Regions from separate parts of the Homo sapiens genome. Here all the other regions are linked to region 2. Evidence: promoter capture Hi-C in 16 types of primary human blood cells and fetal thymus (Javierre and others, 2016). All regions are on one chromosome and are shown on one strand. The core of a region is centred on a gene start or on the middle of the fragment in contact, and the rest is flanking DNA. Distances in the headings are between cores, read along the strand shown. Region 1 has its middle 63 kb from the start of MIR466. Region 2 holds the start of STT3B (STT3 oligosaccharyltransferase complex catalytic subunit B). Region 3 has its middle 47 kb from the start of MIR466.

Region 1 (3,070 bases), core at 428-2,927, 310 kb before region 2:
CCTAGATCCCTCGCATGCACAGTGCACAACAGGGTTTGAGCTCCGATGAGAATCTAATGCTGCCCTTGATCTGACAGGAGGTGAAGCTCAGGCGGTTATGGGAGCAATTGGGTGTGGCTGTAAATATAGATGAAGCTTCACTGGCTGGCTGCTCACCTCCTGCTGTGTAGCCCCAGTTCCTAATAATTCGTGGCCCAGGAGTTGGGGCCCCCTGCTCTATTTGACTCTTGGGGGGTGGGGAGGAGAAATCCCCTGGAGATACTAGAAGGACAGAAGGAGAGGGTAAATGAGCAAATAGTGAGAGGAAGGCAGCTAAGTTCTAGGCAATCACAGTGGGAAAGTTGAACACTTTTAATCACAGACTTCTTGCCAGAAACTGTTAGTTAAACTTCTGAGCTTTCAGGCTGAACTTGGAAATGACCATATTATCAGGGATAAGTTCTCAGCAATGTCATGGAGAAATCTGTTCAAAAGGTCTTTTCAGGGCCCTGCAGGGTTGCAAGTGTCTCTGAACAACTAGCAGGAGGAAAACAATAACCAATTCCCATTTCCCCACTCCCAGCCCATCGCTCAGACTCAGAGACCTCTGTTTTCTCAAGCCCTATCAAGGATTAGAGAGGTCCAGAGAAGGACAAGAAAATATCCAGGGGTTTCCAGTAGGAGAAAAGGCAATTTCAGAACATTCAGGGAAGGAGATTGTTTGAGCTAAAGAAAAAAAAATAAAATAAAAAATAAAAAATAAATAAATAAATAAATAAATAAATAAATAAATAAATGAAATTGAGAAATGTAACCAAAGGGTGGGATAAAATCCAAATTGGTAGCCAGAAAGTAGGTGAGCTGTGGAAATGAACAGAATCATGATGCGTAAGTATTAAAATGGACCCAAAGTGGCATAGTCACTTTGTCTCTGAAAGCCACTCCACTACGTCCCATTTTAGGCAGAGAGGTTAAAAAGAAAGTCTGGGGGTGGCTCTGTGCTTTGGAATTAAAACAGCATCTGCGATATTATTAGCTGGGCCAAGATATGCAGAAGCTATCAATCTTTCTGCTTGGGGGAATAATTGATTGCCAAAGCGGCCCAGACAAGCTGCTTCTCCCTCCCTGAGGTCTGGCCCTGAGTTCAGCACAATTAACTAAGTGCTTCTGTGCTGGAGAAGGCTGGGAGCACAGTTGGCTCCCTCTTAAGCATGAGGTGCTTAAGGAAGGAGAACTCGGCTTTATACCTGTCCCCAACTGGGACGAACACCATCCACTGATATTTCTTGTGAGTGGAAACACTGAGGGGTGGGACTGGGCTCTTCTTTAGGATTTGGGAGACTGGTGAAGCTTATAAGCACCTTCCCTGAACAATGTTTTTATGAATATAAAATAAATACTAAGGATAACAAAAGAATACAGCTAACAAGATATTTAAAAAAAAATTGGTGATGTACTGATAGTTGTGTGTCTTTATTAAACGTTAATAAGATATAGTGGTGGGTGCAATAACTTAGACTTATGGAAGTAATGAATATTTCAAAATATCTACAATAGCTGTGTGGTATGAAAATATCTGTATAATATGTGCTGAAACTGCTAATTCTTTTTTTTTTTTTTTTTTGAGATAGAGTCTCACTCAGCTGCCCAGGCTAGAGTACAGTGGTGCAATCTCTGCTCAGTGCAACCTCCGCCTCCCAGACTCAAGTGATTCTCCTGCCTCAGCCTCTCAAGTAGCTGGAATTACAGGCACGCATCTACCACACTCGGCTAACCTTTTGTATTTTTAGTAGAGATGGGGTTTTGCCAGGTTGGCCAAGCTGGTCTGGAATGCCTGACCTCAGGTGATCCACCCACCTCGGCCTAACAAAGTGCTGGGATTACAGGTGTGAGCCACTGTGCCCGGCCTGGAACTGTTTTATGGTGGGTTTCTCACCTACATTTATCACAGAAAGAAGTGCTAAGTTTCATTCGGATGTTCGTGAAAATAAATAATTTTTTAATCCAAGTTTATAGATCCCGGACTTCTCTCCATGTGCCTCAGGTTAAGCTTTAAAGGTGTGTGGGATGGGAATTCCTTGCATACTAAGGAAAAGAAGTGCCAGGAGCCTGGGCCTTGTGTGGGGTCAGGAGTGAGAAGGGTGCCCCAGGCCATTCTTGGGGCCCAGGATGCTTGGAGGGTAACACACTCATTGGAAAGAAGTAACACTGCACTGGAAGTAAATTGTAATTTAAAATGACAATGACCCTCTCCCATCAGAGTGAGCTCTACATGAAAATACACATTCACCTTTTTTAATTTAACTGGGCTAGCAGCAAATCCCTCAAACTGCTGGCCTTGAAAGTCCTGAAATCTGGAATGAAGGGAAAGAATTATAGACAGACAGTAACTCCTTTCAGCTCCAAATCCATCCAAATTAATTGTTGTTCATCCCTCTTCCCTGCTGCCACACAGAAACAGACTGCACCACTTCCCCCTCTTTTCCTTGGTTCTTCCTCATCCCATTAGCGTTCTCATATGGGGGTTTGGAATAGATGGCTACTGAGTCCATAGAGCTCACTAACTACGTTGTGAACAATCTAGGACTTTGGGATGGTTTTACTCAGTGACATGATCAGGTTTGTATTTCAGGACAATCACTCTGGCTTTAAGACAGAGAATATGACTCCAAGCCAACCACCATATACCATCTCAGGGCCAACATCCTTGTCCAAGTCACCACCCACTCTTGCCTGGGTTGTTGGAGTAGCTGGTTAACTGGTTCATCTTGTCCTTTCCTGCTGGCCAATTCTAGCCTGCACCTGCTTTTGTATGGTCTGTGAGCTAAAATAACTTGTGGAAATTTGTTTTCCCTCTTGTTATATAAATACCTTCATAATTAGTACCTCGATTTTGCTTCCTGGCCCACAAAGCCTAAAATATTTACTATCTGACCCTTTATAGAAAAAGTTCGCTAACCTCTGCCATGGCATATCAGTCCGATCCAGCCAGGAAACCAGGAACCGTTTGCTCCACTCACATGGGGGGAATTTTACTAGAGAATGGTTTAGCCAAGGGTTATAATAACTGAGGAGACAAACAGAACACAGT
Region 2 (3,042 bases), core at 458-2,957:
GGTTAAAAGGGTAGCTGGAGTTGCCTTACTTTCAAGGAGCTACCTCAAAATAACTAGGGTTCATTTATCTAATATTTTAAGACTTCTATTAATATTGAAACACAATTTGTAGTTAAAGAGAAAAATTTAAATCACCTAAGAAAATAATTCAGGGCCTTTATAGTTTTACATTAATATGCCCTTTAATATCCAGATGTTACTTACCTAATAAAATGTACAATTAGCTGTGAATTGACATGAACAAGTATTTACTGAGCACCGATTACGCCGAAAGCTCCGTACTTTCTATGGGGTTTATATAAGAGCAATTCGAGTCTCCCCACTACCTCACTTAGTTTAAGCTCATTTTGCCCTGAGTTTATCTGGTAGCACTTTATTTTAGCGGACAAGGAGGGAAGTGGGGAAAGGAAAGGAATTATAAAAATACAAGGTAGACGTGCACAAGAACCTTCGTTCTATTATTATTTAGTAAAGTGAGAACTGGAAACAGCTTAACGTCCAGGGTAAGTTAGTTTCACTCACTCGACGGAATGTATGCAGCCGTTAATGTATTTCTGCATTTTCCCATATTTCCAGTGAACATACAGTACTTTCGCAATTCGGAGTACAAACGAAAAAGGGCGAGAGAAGGTCGCATTTTGCCTGCCGGAGCTAGGGGCGCGCTTGCCGGTTCCAACGAGTTTTCGGTGTCGGAAAACTTGTCTTTGCTCACATTCTCGGATTCCCGCGGCCGCAGAAGCCGGAGGCGGGACGTGAAGGGCAATGAGCAAGGTAGGCTGTGTCACTGCCGCCGCGGGCTCACTCGCAGCGCCAGCCGAGGAGCGCCACGGGCTGCTGAACCCCTCGGCCCGACCCACGCGCCGAGGGCTAGGATAATGCGCCTGCGCGGCCGTCACGTGGTGAGGGCTCCGCGCAAAGCGGGTTAAAAGTCACGACCGCGGAGAGCCCGCGAGCGTCCTGCTGGTCGGTGCGGCGCTTTCCGCGTCCTTTAAGACGAGTTTGACCGAGGCCGCTCCGCAGTTCCCGCCCCTCGGCCCAGCTCAGCTCCATGAACCTAGCGGAGCCGCCTAGTACCCTTTCTCGCCGACCGCACAGGCGCGCGAAACCGCGTCTTTCAACTGACAATGAAGCCGTAGCCGCGCAGCTCGGCCACTCCGGGCGAATCGGCGCGAGGCCGGGATGGTGGGGGGGAGGGGGAGACGGTTGGGTCAAGCTCCGCCCCAGCTCGCGCCCCTATTGGTGGGCGCAGCGGTTCTGGGCCCGCCCCCTAACGGACCTGTCGCTTTGTGACAGGCGGAGGGGCCAGTTCCTGTCGGGCCGGAGGCGGAGTCAGAGGTTGCTTGAGCTCCGCCCGGACTCCAGGGGGCTCCTCCCCCTGCTCCTTTCGGCTGGGCGGGCGGCGGGCTAGAGAGGGAATGTCATTGCTTCTCAGAGCCGTGGTGCCGCCTCCGTCTGCTGCTTCTTTCCTGGCGCCCTCGTCCCGTCGGCTTTCGCCGCCGCCGCCGCAGCTGCACTGGGGATACGGATGGCTAGTGGGGCGCCGGGGCCATCTGGGTTGAGAGAGCGGCGATTGCGGCCGCTGCTGAGGCGGAGACTCCCCGCCGCCGCTTCCTCCACCCCCAGTCCGCCGGCCTCGCGGCGCTGAGGGCGGGAGCGCGCAGAGCTCTTCCCTCCTCCTTTTTCTTCCTCCTCCTCCTCCTCCTCCGGGTCCCCGCCCAGCACCCCTCGCACCAGGCGGCGGCGGCGGAGGAGGAGAGCTAGACCCGCCGCCGGGGCACAACATGGCGGAGCCCTCGGCCCCGGAGAGCAAGCACAAGTCGTCCCTCAACTCGTCCCCGTGGAGTGGCCTCATGGCCCTGGGAAACAGCCGGCACGGCCACCACGGGCCCGGGGCCCAGTGCGCGCACAAGGCGGCGGGCGGCGCGGCGCCGCCGAAGCCGGCCCCGGCGGGGCTGTCCGGGGGGCTGTCGCAGCCGGCTGGGTGGCAGTCGCTTCTCTCCTTCACCATCCTCTTCCTGGCCTGGCTTGCCGGCTTCAGCTCGCGCCTCTTCGCCGTCATCCGCTTCGAAAGCATCATCCACGAGTTCGACCCGTGGTAAGTGCCTCGCCGCCCCTCCCCCGCCCGTGGCCCGCGGGGAACCGGGACCCGCTCCTCCGCCCGCCGCAGCTCTCCTCGACTTGGCCCCGCGCCGCCGCGGAGCCCCGCTCGCGTCCTGGCTGAGGCCGGCGCGGATCCCGGAGCTCCGGGCGCGCCCCCTGCCCGTGGGCGAAGTTTGCCCCGTGCAGCCTGAGGCGGGGCGTCGGGGTCCAGGAGCGAAACCTTGATTCTCGGCCGGGCTAGTGTGAAGACTGCCAGGAGTGTGGATGCAGCCGCCGGGAGTGTGGGTGCAGCCGCCGGGAGTGTGGGTGCAGTCCCTCGCAGCCCGCTTTGGTCGCTGAGTCCGGACCCGCCACGCCAGGAGGCGGCAGGTAGCTCCTCCGCGGACTGTCGGTCGATTCCCCGCCCTCCTCGCCCGCTGCTTTCGCGTTCTTTCATATTTGCGGGCGCGTTTTTGCTAGTTCAGACGGAATCGGCCAGGGGGGCTGCCCTGTTGCCGCTGGAGGTGGGTCCAGATGTGCCGGAACCCCGGCTGCTCACCCTTGCAGTTTTACGCTTTTACTGTTTCTTTTTATGCTCTCATGATACGAGAAGGGAAAAGGAGAGTGAATGGCGTGTTGGAGGGAAGGAAATAATACCCCTGAAAGTGATCTGAAAGCTAGCTACTCTTATTTATTTATCATTAGGTATTTTAAAGAGTGGCTTTTTTTCAGAGCTCTTAAGTGCACTCAGCACCTTACTGTTTCACTATCGTCTTGGGTTGCTTTTTAGAACAAGATCCTTACCCTGTTAGCCACTGTCACCCTTAGTGTGTTATGCACAGTATCTGAAAGCATTGCATTAGTTCCTTTATTGGTCTGCAGGAAGGTTTGTGGATAAGAGCAAACAGTACCACGGTGATGGGAGTCCTAGATTGTAATACCGAAGTTGCACATGGTGTAAGG
Region 3 (2,738 bases), core at 183-2,682, 320 kb before region 2:
CACATAATTCATTTGCGATCTATGCAAGTTGTTGCATGTATCAGCACTTTGGTCCTTTTTATTGCTTAGCAATATTCCATGGTATAGATGTGCTATAATTTGTTCAACCAATTACCCACTGACACATGTTTGGATTGTTTCCAGCCTTGAGCTGTATCAAATAAAGCTGCTATGAACATTAATGTAGATTTGTGTATGATTATAACTTTGCATTTGTCTGGGATAAATGTCCAAAAGTGTAATTTCTGGGTTGTATGTTAGGTCTATATTAGTTTTATAAGAAGATGCCAAATAATTTTCTAGAGTGACTATACCATTTTACATTATCACAGCAATACATGAGTTTCTCTACGCCTTTCCCTAATAAATGTGTAGCTATATCTTATTGTGAATTTAATTTGCATTGCATTTCCTGGATGTGTAACAATGCTGAACGTCTTTTTCACATGCTTATTTCCCATCTGTATATTCTTGTTAGTGAAATATATGTTCATGCATTTTTCCCATTATCAAATTGGATTCTTTGTTCAATTTTTATTGTTGAGTTTTAAGAGCTCTTTATATGTTCTAGGTATGTCTTTTGTCAACTATGTGGGTTGCAAATATTTTCTCCCAGTCTATAGCTTGTTTTTTCATCTCCCTAACAGAGTCTTTGCAGAGCAAAAGTTTTTAGTTTTGGTGAAGCTCTTTTTATCACTTTTTTCTTTAATGAATCATGTTTTTGCTAACTGGTCTAAGAATGCTTTGCTAGCCTTAGGTTTTCAAGAGTTTCTTCTTTTTTTTTTCTAGAAGTTTTATAGTTTTACATGTTACATGTAAACCTATGGTCCACTTTGAGTTAATTTTTGTATAAGGTATGAGGTTTAGATTGAGGTTCTTTTTTTCCTATTGTTAGCCCATGAATGTCCAATTGCTCCAACACCTCTTGTTGAAAACACCATTTTTCCCCCACTGAATTGTTATTGCACCTTTGTTGATGCTATGGTTTGGCTGTGTCCCCACCCAAATCTCATCTTGAATTGTAGTTCCCGTAATACCCACATGTCACTGGAGGGACCCGGTGGGAGGCAGTTGAATCATGGGGCAGGTTTTTCCCACACTGTTCTCGTGATAGTGAATAAGTCTCACAAGATCTGATGGTTTTATAAAGGGCAGTTCCCTTGCATATGCTCCCTTGCCTGCCACCATGTAAGACACGCCTTTGCTCCTCCTTTGCCTTCTGCCATGACTGTGAGGCCTCCCCAGCCATGTGGAACTGTGAGTTCATTAAACCTCTTTTTCTTTATAAATTACCCAGTCTTGGGTATGTCTGTATTAGCAGTGTGAGAATAGACTAATATAGTCAAAAAATCAGTCATCTATAAGGGTCTATATCTGTGTTCTCTATTCTGTTCCCTTGATCTACCTGTCTGTCCCTCCACAAACACTACATTTGTCTTGATTACTATAGCTACATAGTAAGCATTAATATGAGGTAATTTTCTCCCATTAGTTATTCTTTTAAAAAATATTTCAGCTTTCTAGGTGCTGTGCATTTCCATGTAAATTTTAAAATAAACTTGCCTATGTTTATTAAAAACTATGCTGAGCTAGATATCCACAAGCAAAAGAATGAAGTTCCAACCTTTCCTAACAGTATATACAAAAATTAATTCAAAATGAATCAAATACCTTAGGTAGGACCTAAATCTATAAAACCTTTAGAAGAAAGCATAGAGCAAAGTTTTATGACATTTGATTTAGCAATGACTTCTTGGATATGACATCCAAGAGACAGGCAACAAAAGAAAAAATAAACAAACTGGAGTCTATTAAACATATCTTTTTATTGTGCATTGAAAGACACTATCAACAAGGTAAAAAAAAAAAAAGGCAACTCACAGAATGAGAAAAAATACTTACAAATCATATATCCGATAAGGGATTAATATTCAAAACATATACAGAATTCCCCAAATCAGCCACAACCATAAAAAACCCTCAATTTTTAAAATAGGAAAAAGACATCAGTGGATATTTCTCCAAAGACTATTATACAAATAACCAATAAATATTTAAAAGATGCTCAACGTCACTAATCATTAGAGAAATGCAAATATAATAAAATCTCACCTCACATCCATTAGGATGGCTACTCTCAAAAAAACAGAAAATAATAAGTGTTGTCAGAGTGGAGAAATTGGAACCCTTATGCACTGGTGGTGGGACTATAAAATGATACAGTCCCTATGGAAAAGATTACAGCAGTTCCTCAAAAACAAAAACAAAAACAAAAAAAATAGTATTACCATATGGCCCAGCAATTCCACTTTTGGGTATGTACCCAAAAGAATTTAAAGCAGAGTCTCCAGTAGATATTTGAACATCCATGTCCATGCAGCTAAATGTGGAAGCAATCCAGTTTTCACCAACCAATGAATGAATAAGCAAAATGTGGTGTATACATGTAATGGAATATTATTCAACCATAAAAAGGATGAACCTACAACATGGATGAACCGTAAGGATATTATGCTAAGTGAAGCAAGCCAATCACAAAAAGACAGATACTATATGCTCCCATTTACATGAGGTACTTAGAGTTGTCAAACTCATAGAAACAGAAAGTAGAATGATGATTGCCAGGGACTGGGGAAGAGCAAGAATAGGAAGTTTTGTTTTTGTTTTTATACTTTAAGTTCTGTGTTACATGGGCAGAACATGCAGTTTTGTTGCATAGGTATACATGTGCCCTGGTG

What was found. Contacts are between HindIII fragments. The CHiCAGO score rates a contact against its expected background, and 5 or more counts as called.
Region 1: a fragment that was not itself captured here is called in contact with the fragment with the promoter of STT3B in region 2 in 8 of 17 cell types (non-activated CD4 T cells, fetal thymus, naive CD4 T cells and 5 more); the score reaches 9.7 in non-activated CD4 T cells.
Region 3: a fragment that was not itself captured here is called in contact with the fragment with the promoter of STT3B in region 2 in 4 of 17 cell types (fetal thymus, non-activated CD4 T cells, naive CD4 T cells and 1 more); the score reaches 8.0 in fetal thymus.

Annotation. Positions count from the first base shown.
Region 1 is chr3:31,223,385-31,226,454 of GRCh38, forward strand. No RefSeq gene overlaps it. Among named protein-coding and RNA genes, the nearest start is that of MIR466, 63 kb to the left of the region's middle. The HindIII fragment of the contact is 700 bases long and covers 1,328-2,027 here.
Region 2 is chr3:31,531,218-31,534,259 of GRCh38, forward strand. STT3B (STT3 oligosaccharyltransferase complex catalytic subunit B) reads left to right here and starts at 1,708. Exons shown (of 16, transcript NM_178862.3): 1 at 1,708-2,095. The coding sequence starts at 1,782. RefSeq lists silencers at 1,031-1,290, 1,601-1,830, 1,861-1,990, 2,071-2,220 and enhancers at 1,391-1,530, 2,381-2,440. The HindIII fragment of the contact is 5,534 bases long and covers 1-3,042 here.
Region 3 is chr3:31,207,053-31,209,790 of GRCh38, forward strand. No RefSeq gene overlaps it. Among named protein-coding and RNA genes, the nearest start is that of MIR466, 47 kb to the left of the region's middle. The HindIII fragment of the contact is 4,070 bases long and covers 1-2,738 here.